3 separate regions of the Homo sapiens genome follow, and all the other regions are linked to region 1. The links are contacts of gene promoters, found by promoter capture Hi-C in human tissues and cell types (Jung and others, 2019). All regions are on one chromosome and are shown on one strand. The core of a region is centred on a gene start or on the middle of the fragment in contact, and the rest is flanking DNA. Distances in the headings are between cores, read along the strand shown. Region 1 holds the start of SLC24A2 (solute carrier family 24 member 2). Region 2 overlaps SLC24A2 (solute carrier family 24 member 2). Region 3 overlaps SLC24A2 (solute carrier family 24 member 2).

Region 1 (2,700 bases), core at 189-2,688:
CATAAAAAGTCTCTCCTTTATCAGATGCGGGAAAGTAGTCCTTTACAAATTTAAGTTTACAAAAAAAAATTCTGGTGACATGCACAAGCTGCCTTCCCTAAACATCTAGACATTGTTTTCAGCTAAATATTTTTTTTAAAAAAACAACCTTTAGTCATATTTAAAATAGGCAGCTTAGTAAGTCAAAGAACTCCCAATGCAGTGAAATAACAAGTAGGCTATTTCGAGAGACCACATGTGTATTTCATAAACAATACGCAAGTTGTAGCAATACCTCTGTCCACAAAATCTGCCCAAAATAGCCCCACCACTGACTTTAATAGGTTAGATATCCAAAGCAGAGTTTTCTTTCTCTATCCCACGGAGGAGATGGGTAAAATAGCCAGACTTGACAGCTGATATTCTGAAGAGTTCTCTTTTTAGTTTTTCTTTAAAAAGACTATTCTTTTCCATATCAACGATTTCATTTTGGAGGCAGTCGCTGAGATAATCTCAGGTGTAAAATAAGCTAATTAAACACACGCCACTTAAATACTGAGATTAGCTGGAGCTCAGGTTTTCAGAGCAAAGCAAGAGCACAAATCAACCCCGCTGAGTTGCTGCTACTCCTGAGATAACCCGACCCCATCACGGAGATTCCCAGGTGGCTGCGAACGTCAACGCTTAGCAGGAACGATTAAGCGATTCACAGCACTCAGGGGATTGTGTAAATGCCCGGCCCGGGCGACCAGCAGGGACAGATTCAACTCCCCGGGCGCAAAGTCATCTCCAGCCCGATCCTCGCTCCCCCTGAAAACCCACCGCTCGTCTCCCCGGGAGCTGCCTCCGTAGGAGAATGTTCGCCCCCAGCCGCGCCCCAACTTTGCCTTGCGTGGTCCCAAACTTTCCCTGGTGGATTAATAGGAAAATAAATCTAAAGGACAGACGCCCCACCTGTGAGCTTGGAGCTGGGTTGCATTTGGTGAGGCGCTTGGCCCGCATCCCCCTGAGTCGTTTGTAGGTGGCTGGGGAATGGAAGCGCCCCTCTGCGCGTCTCCCCCGACGGCAGGCCCTGCCCCACGCCCCCCATCCCAAGCCAAAAGCAAGGGTAGGAGAGGCGGGGGCTCCAAATCCACGCCCCGGAGCACAGAGAGTTGGCTAACTCCTAGCGGGGCCTGGGGCGCCCACATCCACGGCAGAGCCACCTGTGAGCCTGCAGAGCAGCAACGGGATGCGCGCAACCGGGATGCGGGGACGACCGCCACAGCGGCTACAGCGGCAGGCGGGGCGCAGCCGCCCGCACTTACCAGGATAAGATGGGAGGACGCGCACACGGCGGGGCCCCCGAGCGCGGCCCGCCGCTCCAGTCCGCCGGCCCTCCGCCTACCCGCTCTGAGGCCCGGGCTCTGGCTCGCACTGGCTGCCGCTCTCGCCAGCCGGGCTGGGTTCGGGAGGAGACTGAGCCGCTGTGAGCCCGGCGCTCCGAGTCTGGCGCTGCCCGGCCCCCGCCGGCCCCTCCCTCTGGGCTGTGCGCTGTGCGCTGGGAGCGGGGCCGCAGCGCGCTCAGCTCCCGAGTCCTTTGCTCCACGCCTCCTGGGCGCAGAGGCGACGCTGGCAGCCGTCTCTTAGGAGATTTCTCCGCAGTGTGGACGGGGGTCAGGATTTGCAGGCGAGCAAGGGCAGAGAGGAGAAATCGTACAGGTCGGTGACGCGCCTAATTCACAAAGCCTGAAAGTGCTGTCAACTTTGGGGTCATCTTATGCTGGGCACCGCCTCTCCAATTATCTGCAAAAAGTGATAGCAGTCGCGCTTTTCTTTAGGAGGCGATGTGATGTGTAATGGTGGAAAAGACGTTCAATGAAAAGGCACGGAGGCCTGCAGGACAGGCTGTTGGGGTCCAGGGTTTCTTGAGTGTTGGATTTGGATGCTTGGGACACTGCAGGGGCTTCAGTCTTGCAGGGTGACCTTTCATTTCATGGGTGATGAAAGTGAGACCCAAAACCCCGTGTCATTTTGAATCACTGACAGGCTTCGGCTTTTGGCCTCGGGATGTCCAGCCCAGTGCTCCTTCCTGTCCTATCTGGAAAGCAAGATCCCCTTGACCACAAGAAATAGAATCAGGCTTGTTGGGGATGAGAGACTAGAATCTGGGCCAAAGAATGGAAGACGGTGGTAAGACAAATTGGTAGTGAGGGAACCCCTTTTACCCAACCCTGTGACCACCAGCAAAGCTGCCAAGAGGTACCCAACTCGTGAAGCTCTGAAAGCTTTTCGCACATTTTCCCCTCTCCTTACCCTCCATCCTTCTGTTCTCTCCCCCATCCAAGAGGGTTTCTTCATGCCCTCCTTACAATGGGGGTAATGGGTATATCCTGAGAGCTCATGACCTCTGACTTAGAGTACAGCTCTGTAGTCAGACCTCTGGGCCTACTCATCAATAAGTAAAGGGAAGCCTAGGGAACTTAGAAATATTTTTCTTCCCCCCACCCCCCAATCAAAGCCAGGCATTCAAGACTCAACTTTTCTTTTTCTTTCTCCTTTCGAGACTGAATCTTGCTATGTTGCCCAAGCTTGTCTTGAATTCCTGGGCTCTAGCCATCCTCCAGCCTCAGACTCCCAAGTGCTTGCAGACTATAGGTGCCTGACTGAATTTTTTTATCTTTAACTTTTAATTTAGAAAATTTCAAACATATACAAATGTAAGAAAGTAGTATAATGAAT
Region 2 (2,714 bases), core at 180-2,679, 200 kb before region 1:
AATTTGAAGCATCCCACTTTCTGTCCACCACTCACTTTTCTCTTTCTACTACAAGAAAGTAGTAGATGTTCTTTGATCTTACTGGTCAATTCATTGATGCGGTCACCTTTTCACTGCCCTCCTTTAACGTGTTCTTCACTCGGCTCCAGAGACACCATTCTATCCTAGTTTTCTTCCCACCTCAGTCTCCTTTGCTGGGCCTCCCCTTTTTTCCCGGACTCTAGACTTTGGAGTCCCCAGGGCTCAATTCTTGGCCTTCTCTTCTCTATCAATTAGCTAGGTATTATAGTCCAGTTCTGTAGCTTTTAAATAACACGCATATTTTATGACCCCCAAATTTACATCTACAGCTCTGCCTGACCTCTATCCCATGCTCCATACTCCTACACCCACCACTTTCTCAACATCTCCATTTGGATGTCTCATAGGCATCTTAAATTTAACATGAGTGCTCAAGCTCCCTCTTATAGCTTGCTCTATTCTCAGTCTTCTCCACCAACACACAGTTATATGAAAGTGAGATGTCCCTGTTGAGAAGAGACTGCAAGTTGCCTATCCAATATCTATTCCATTTTCATTTCCTAATGACATAATGCCTAAATTATTGGGGACAGCAATTCATGCAGTTTAACAAACTACATTTCCAAATTGCCTTGAAACTAGGTAGTCATGTGACTGAGTTTTGAGCAAATTTTACTGAGAGGGTCTTCAGGGAAAGCTCCTTAAAAAGAAGACAAAATATCTAGAGAAAATCACTTTGACCCTTCCTCCTTCCAAGAATACAGACGTGATGGCCAGAGCTCAACAGCCACCATCTTGGACCATGAGGTGCCCTTGAGGTTACAAATCATATACGAGGGTGGTGGAGCAGAAGGATGGAAGGAGCCTGGGTCTTGAATTATTGTGGAGCTGCTAGAGCTGCCATGTCTTGTCTGCTACTCGAATTCTTACACTTGAGAGAAAAATAAACTTCCATCTTATTTAAGTCACTGTTAATTTGGATTTTCTGCTATATATAGCTAAAGCTATTTTGCCTGATGTATCAGTGTGTATGACACAATCTCATCCTTTCATGCAAGGATTACAATGTCCTATGAAGGTCACAGATAACAAGAAGGACTTATTTTAAAGTAACATTATTTAGTTGATATATCCTGGGCAATGAAAAACATTGCTGAATGGTATTCCAAAACTTAATTTCTCTTTGAAAATAATTAGACTATTTCACTGCAACTAAGAACATCAAATGATTGGCTAGACAATGTGACCTTAAGATACTTTTGTTTCTTTGAAATAATGGGGGTTTTCAAAACAGCCACATGCCTAATTTAGGACCCCATGATTCATGTAAGACATTATTAGTTTTTCAGCTTGGTAAAGGGGCAGTTGGTTGCCATGAAACAGTAAGCTTAATTTAATTATGGAAAAGGTCTTTATAATTTTTTTGCCCTTGATATCACAACTTTTCTACCATTTTCTCCCTTATACAAATGAACAAGGATTGACTTTTTAAATAGTGGTGAAATTATTTTTCTGGAAATGTCTTTGGTTAAATGGCAGAGAGTTTAGGACAATACAATGGAGACAGCTTTCCCCACATATTGCTTCATTGCAAGATATTAGTTGGGATATCTACCGACCTACCTACCTACCTACCCACCTACCTACCTACCTACCTACCTACCTACCTACCTACCTACCTACCTATCTACCTATCTACCTACATGTCTCTGTGAAACATTTACCTTTGAAGAGCAAAAATTACTAATTCTATATACTGCCATTGGTGGAAAGGTCTTTTCTCCTTTTAATCCATCTGTCCCATCACACAAACTTGCCTACTTTTGAACTAGCATTCTATATTATTATTCAGAATAATTTTAGGAAAAGAGCCACGTTCAATTTATTGAGAATTTTCTAGAGTAAGAATGGTATGAAATTTGGGTATCTGCAGATGAGAAATAAGCTATGCATTATTAACTTTAAAAGTTGGAGATTGCTCTTCCAAAAATATGCAGTATCACTGTATGAGAAGATAAGGTGACTGCTGCCTGTGTAGGGGTAGCTGAAGTTACCAAAAGACATTTTTGTCCCTAGAAACATCTTATTACAGGGGCAAAGTCCCTGGGAGGAGTAAAGCTCACTAATTTATCATGTCTAGCAAAATGTCTCATTCAGAGAAGGTGCTCAGTTATTATTAAGTGAATGTGCTAGTACAGGTGGCAGGTAAGACAGGTTGTCATCTTGGGACACATGAACATGGCAGTGGAGACATCGCCTGCCAGGCACAGTGCTGTGAGCTTTATGAATTCTGCCTGCCCTCACTTCCCAAGATAAGAAAGATGCCTTCCACTGGGCTGTTCCAGCACCTAGGGTCTACTCATCTCATGCCTGTGTCTCCCACAAGGTCATGAGTTCTTTAGGAGAACTGTGTTTAATCTCCTCCGCTCTGCCCCCAATCCAGCACCTGGTACATACTGGCTATTGATGAACAAATTCATGAAAGAATGAATAAAAAAGTAGATAAAATTTGGATTGGCTTGGGGTGGGGAGAGGAGGTTGGGTGTGGCCTCGGGAGCTGCTCCAGTGAGGTTCTAGAGCATCTTAGGGCTGAGGGAGACAGGGGAGGGGGAAAGGGCTCGGAGGGCAAGGAGAAACTTTTCAAACGTCATGATTTTGTCTTGCGTGTGAGAGTAAGTATATTGTTTTATTAA
Region 3 (2,700 bases), core at 44-2,543, 220 kb before region 1:
GGTAACTTGACCCTGGTGGATCTAGAATTCACTACCAGGCTGTCCTACAGTGGGCCATGGTGACCTGCAGGCCCAGGTCACCTGATTGCTCTTGAGGTCCAGGTCATCTGATTGTAAGTGAAGACCTGATTGCTCTTGAACTCTGAGCCTAGCAGGGTGGTGCACAAATCTGTCCTGTTCCCCTTTGTGGAGACCTAGGGCCACAGCTCTGCTCAGAGAGGGGTCATCTGGGACTCTTTTGCTCCCCTGCAGCAAGGTCCTCCCTTGCAGGGGCACAGATGTCCCTCTGTCAGCCAGATGGAGAGGCATGGGGATGAGGCTGCCCTCTGCACACCTATGACTGTGCCATCCCCAAGGGCAGCCAGATGTCCTTGGGGCCTGCCTCCTGCTGCCACACGCTGCTTATCCATGTGGACATAAGCTGCTCTGCCAGCTCACTCTTGAGCTAATGCAAAGGGACCACAGGGCTCTGGGCAGGAAGGTAAGGAGCATAGAAGGCAGAGGAGACAAGGGCAGAAGGAGTGGCAGGCTCCTTATTCTTTCTGTTAAATGAAGAAACTTTCCTTAGGAAAGAAATACGTAATTTCTATCAGAGAATAAGGGTAACAGGCAACAATTAGCATTTTTTTTTTCTTAAGAAGTGGCTGCTAGGTTATATTGACTGTAGTCTGGTTTCTATTTGCAGGCACTGTATCACTTTTCAGCTCATTGGGGGAAGTTCTGTCTAGAGAGTGCTTTCAAACTTTAGGGTAGTGCTACTCCAAGTATGGTCCTTGGACCAACAGCATCAGCATCACTGGGGAGCTCATTAGAACTGCAGACTCTAGGCCTCATGGCAGACCTGACAAATTCAGAATGTGAATTTTAAGATGACCTCCCCAGAGAATTTGTAAGTACATTAAAGTTTGAGAAACACTGAGCTAGGTAAAATGCAAGTTTTAAAATGCCTAATTAACATGCAAGTTTGGGGCTCCAGGTCTTAGAAATTCTGATTCGCCTGATCAGGATGAGATCCAGAAATCTAACAAGCACCAAAGGTGGTTCTGCCTACATTTTGAGCAACTGTGTTCTAGAGAGAGTGGTGGAAATTGTACAGTTGGACGGTCCTGAGATGAAATCTCAGCTCTACCATCTACAAACTAGGTAACCCCAATTAACTACTTCATCTCACTGAGCTTCAGTTTCCTCAACTATAAAATGGAGCTACTATCCGGGCGCAGTGGCTCACGCCTATAATCCCAGCACTTTGGGAGGCCAAGGCGAGTGGATCACCTGAGGTCAGAAGTTCGAGACCAGCCTGATCAACTGAAACCCCATCTCTACTAAAAATGCAAAAAAAAAAAATTAGCCGGGTGTGGTGGTGCGAGCTACTCAGGAGGCTGAGGCAGGAGAATTGCTTGAACCCAGGAGGTGGAGGTTGCAGTGAGCTGAGATTGAGTCACTGCACTCCAGGCTGGGTGACAGAGTGAGAGTCCGTCTCAAAAAAAAAAAAAAAAAAAAAAATGGAGCTACTAATGCCTACACCTTCAGCTGTGAGGTTAAAGGTGATAACATATGTTGATATGGTTTGGCTCTGTGTCCCCACCCAAATCTCATCTCAAATTGTAATCCCCATATGTTGCGGGGAGGAGCCTGGTGGGAGGTGATTGAATCTGGGGGGCAGATTTCCCCTTTGCTATTCTCGTGATACTGAGTGGGTTCTCATGAGATCTGGCTGCTTGAAAGTGTATGGCACATCTCCATTCCCTCTTTTTCTTTCCTGCTCTGCCATGGTAAGACATGCTTGCTTCCCCTTCACCTTCTGCCATGATTATAAGTTTCCTGAGGCCTCTCAGTCATGCTTCCTGTTGAGCCTGTGGAACTATAAGTCAATTAAACCTCTTTTCTTCATAAGTTCTCTATAGCAGTGTGAAAATGGACTAATACCTATGTAAAATGCCTAGTACCGAAGCTGTGGCAAATAGTAGGTGTTTGATAAATGTTAGGTTTTACAACTACTAGACTGAAAAGTTCAAGTGGTTGTGCCATTGAATAATGGGTTGGGCCAGAGAGTGTTAATTTCAACCACAGGGACAGAGAAAGCCAAAGGGGGCTCACTGAGTCTGATGGCTGTGGTTTCTCTATTACTTAACACAGACCTTAAAGACACAGAGAAAGGATTAAACTGCAGCAGGTATCAAGCTTTATCATACATTAAAAATCACCTTGGATGCTAATTAAAAATGCTAATTCCGACGTGCTGCTTCCCAGTGATCCTGTTTCACCACACCTGGTATATGGCCCAGGGATCTACATTTTCATCCCCAGGAGATACTGATGCATGAGTCCTTCAACCTCACCTGGAGAAACAGTGGCTTAGAGAATATTCATATTCATTCAATAAATGTAGAGGCTGCTGCATGTGGGACCCTGGGGTGGCACTGGGAAATACACACAAGGATGTATAAGGCCCTACCTGATTCCTGCCCAGCTGAGAGCTGGGGCTTCCAAGGAGAATATAGGGTCTGTGCTGCCACGCTAGGATATCAGTTAAGAACAACAGCCCAGAAGAGCAATGGAGAAAAGCCATACCTGGGCTTCTGCACCTTCAATGTTGTGGGAGAGATTTCCATTTTGTACAGGTTCTGAAGCATCACTGGATGGTGTCATTTCAACATCTGTGCTGGTGCTGTTTGGAAGCTCAATTTTTTCTGTGATATA

What was found. Contacts are between HindIII fragments. The study calls those that stand out against the background at their distance.
Region 2: a contact is called between a fragment that was not itself captured here and the fragment with the promoter of SLC24A2 in region 1, in 2 of the 25 tissues and cell types used here (dorsolateral prefrontal cortex and hippocampus).
Region 3: a contact is called between a fragment that was not itself captured here and the fragment with the promoter of SLC24A2 in region 1, in 4 of the 25 tissues and cell types used here (adrenal gland, dorsolateral prefrontal cortex, lymphoblastoid cells and 1 more).

What each region holds. Positions count from the first base shown.
Region 1 is chr9:19,787,599-19,790,298 of GRCh38, forward strand. SLC24A2 (solute carrier family 24 member 2) reads right to left here and starts at 1,439. Exons shown (of 11, transcript NM_020344.4): 1 at 1,287-1,439. It overlaps LOC124902128 (a long non-coding RNA gene), which reads left to right and starts at 1,561. Exons shown (of 2, transcript XR_007061432.1): 1 at 1,561-1,680. RefSeq lists an enhancer at 355-1,002. The HindIII fragment of the contact is 14,556 bases long and covers 1-2,700 here.
Region 2 is chr9:19,590,838-19,593,551 of GRCh38, forward strand. The region is part of intron 5 of SLC24A2 (solute carrier family 24 member 2); the gene reads right to left. Among named protein-coding and RNA genes, the nearest start is that of MAP1LC3BP1, 130 kb to the left of the region's middle. The HindIII fragment of the contact is 5,373 bases long and covers 1-2,714 here.
Region 3 is chr9:19,570,780-19,573,479 of GRCh38, forward strand. It overlaps SLC24A2 (solute carrier family 24 member 2), which reads right to left. Exons shown (of 11, transcript NM_020344.4): 7 at 2,572-2,690. Among named protein-coding and RNA genes, the nearest start is that of MAP1LC3BP1, 110 kb to the left of the region's middle. The HindIII fragment of the contact is 6,097 bases long and covers 1-2,700 here.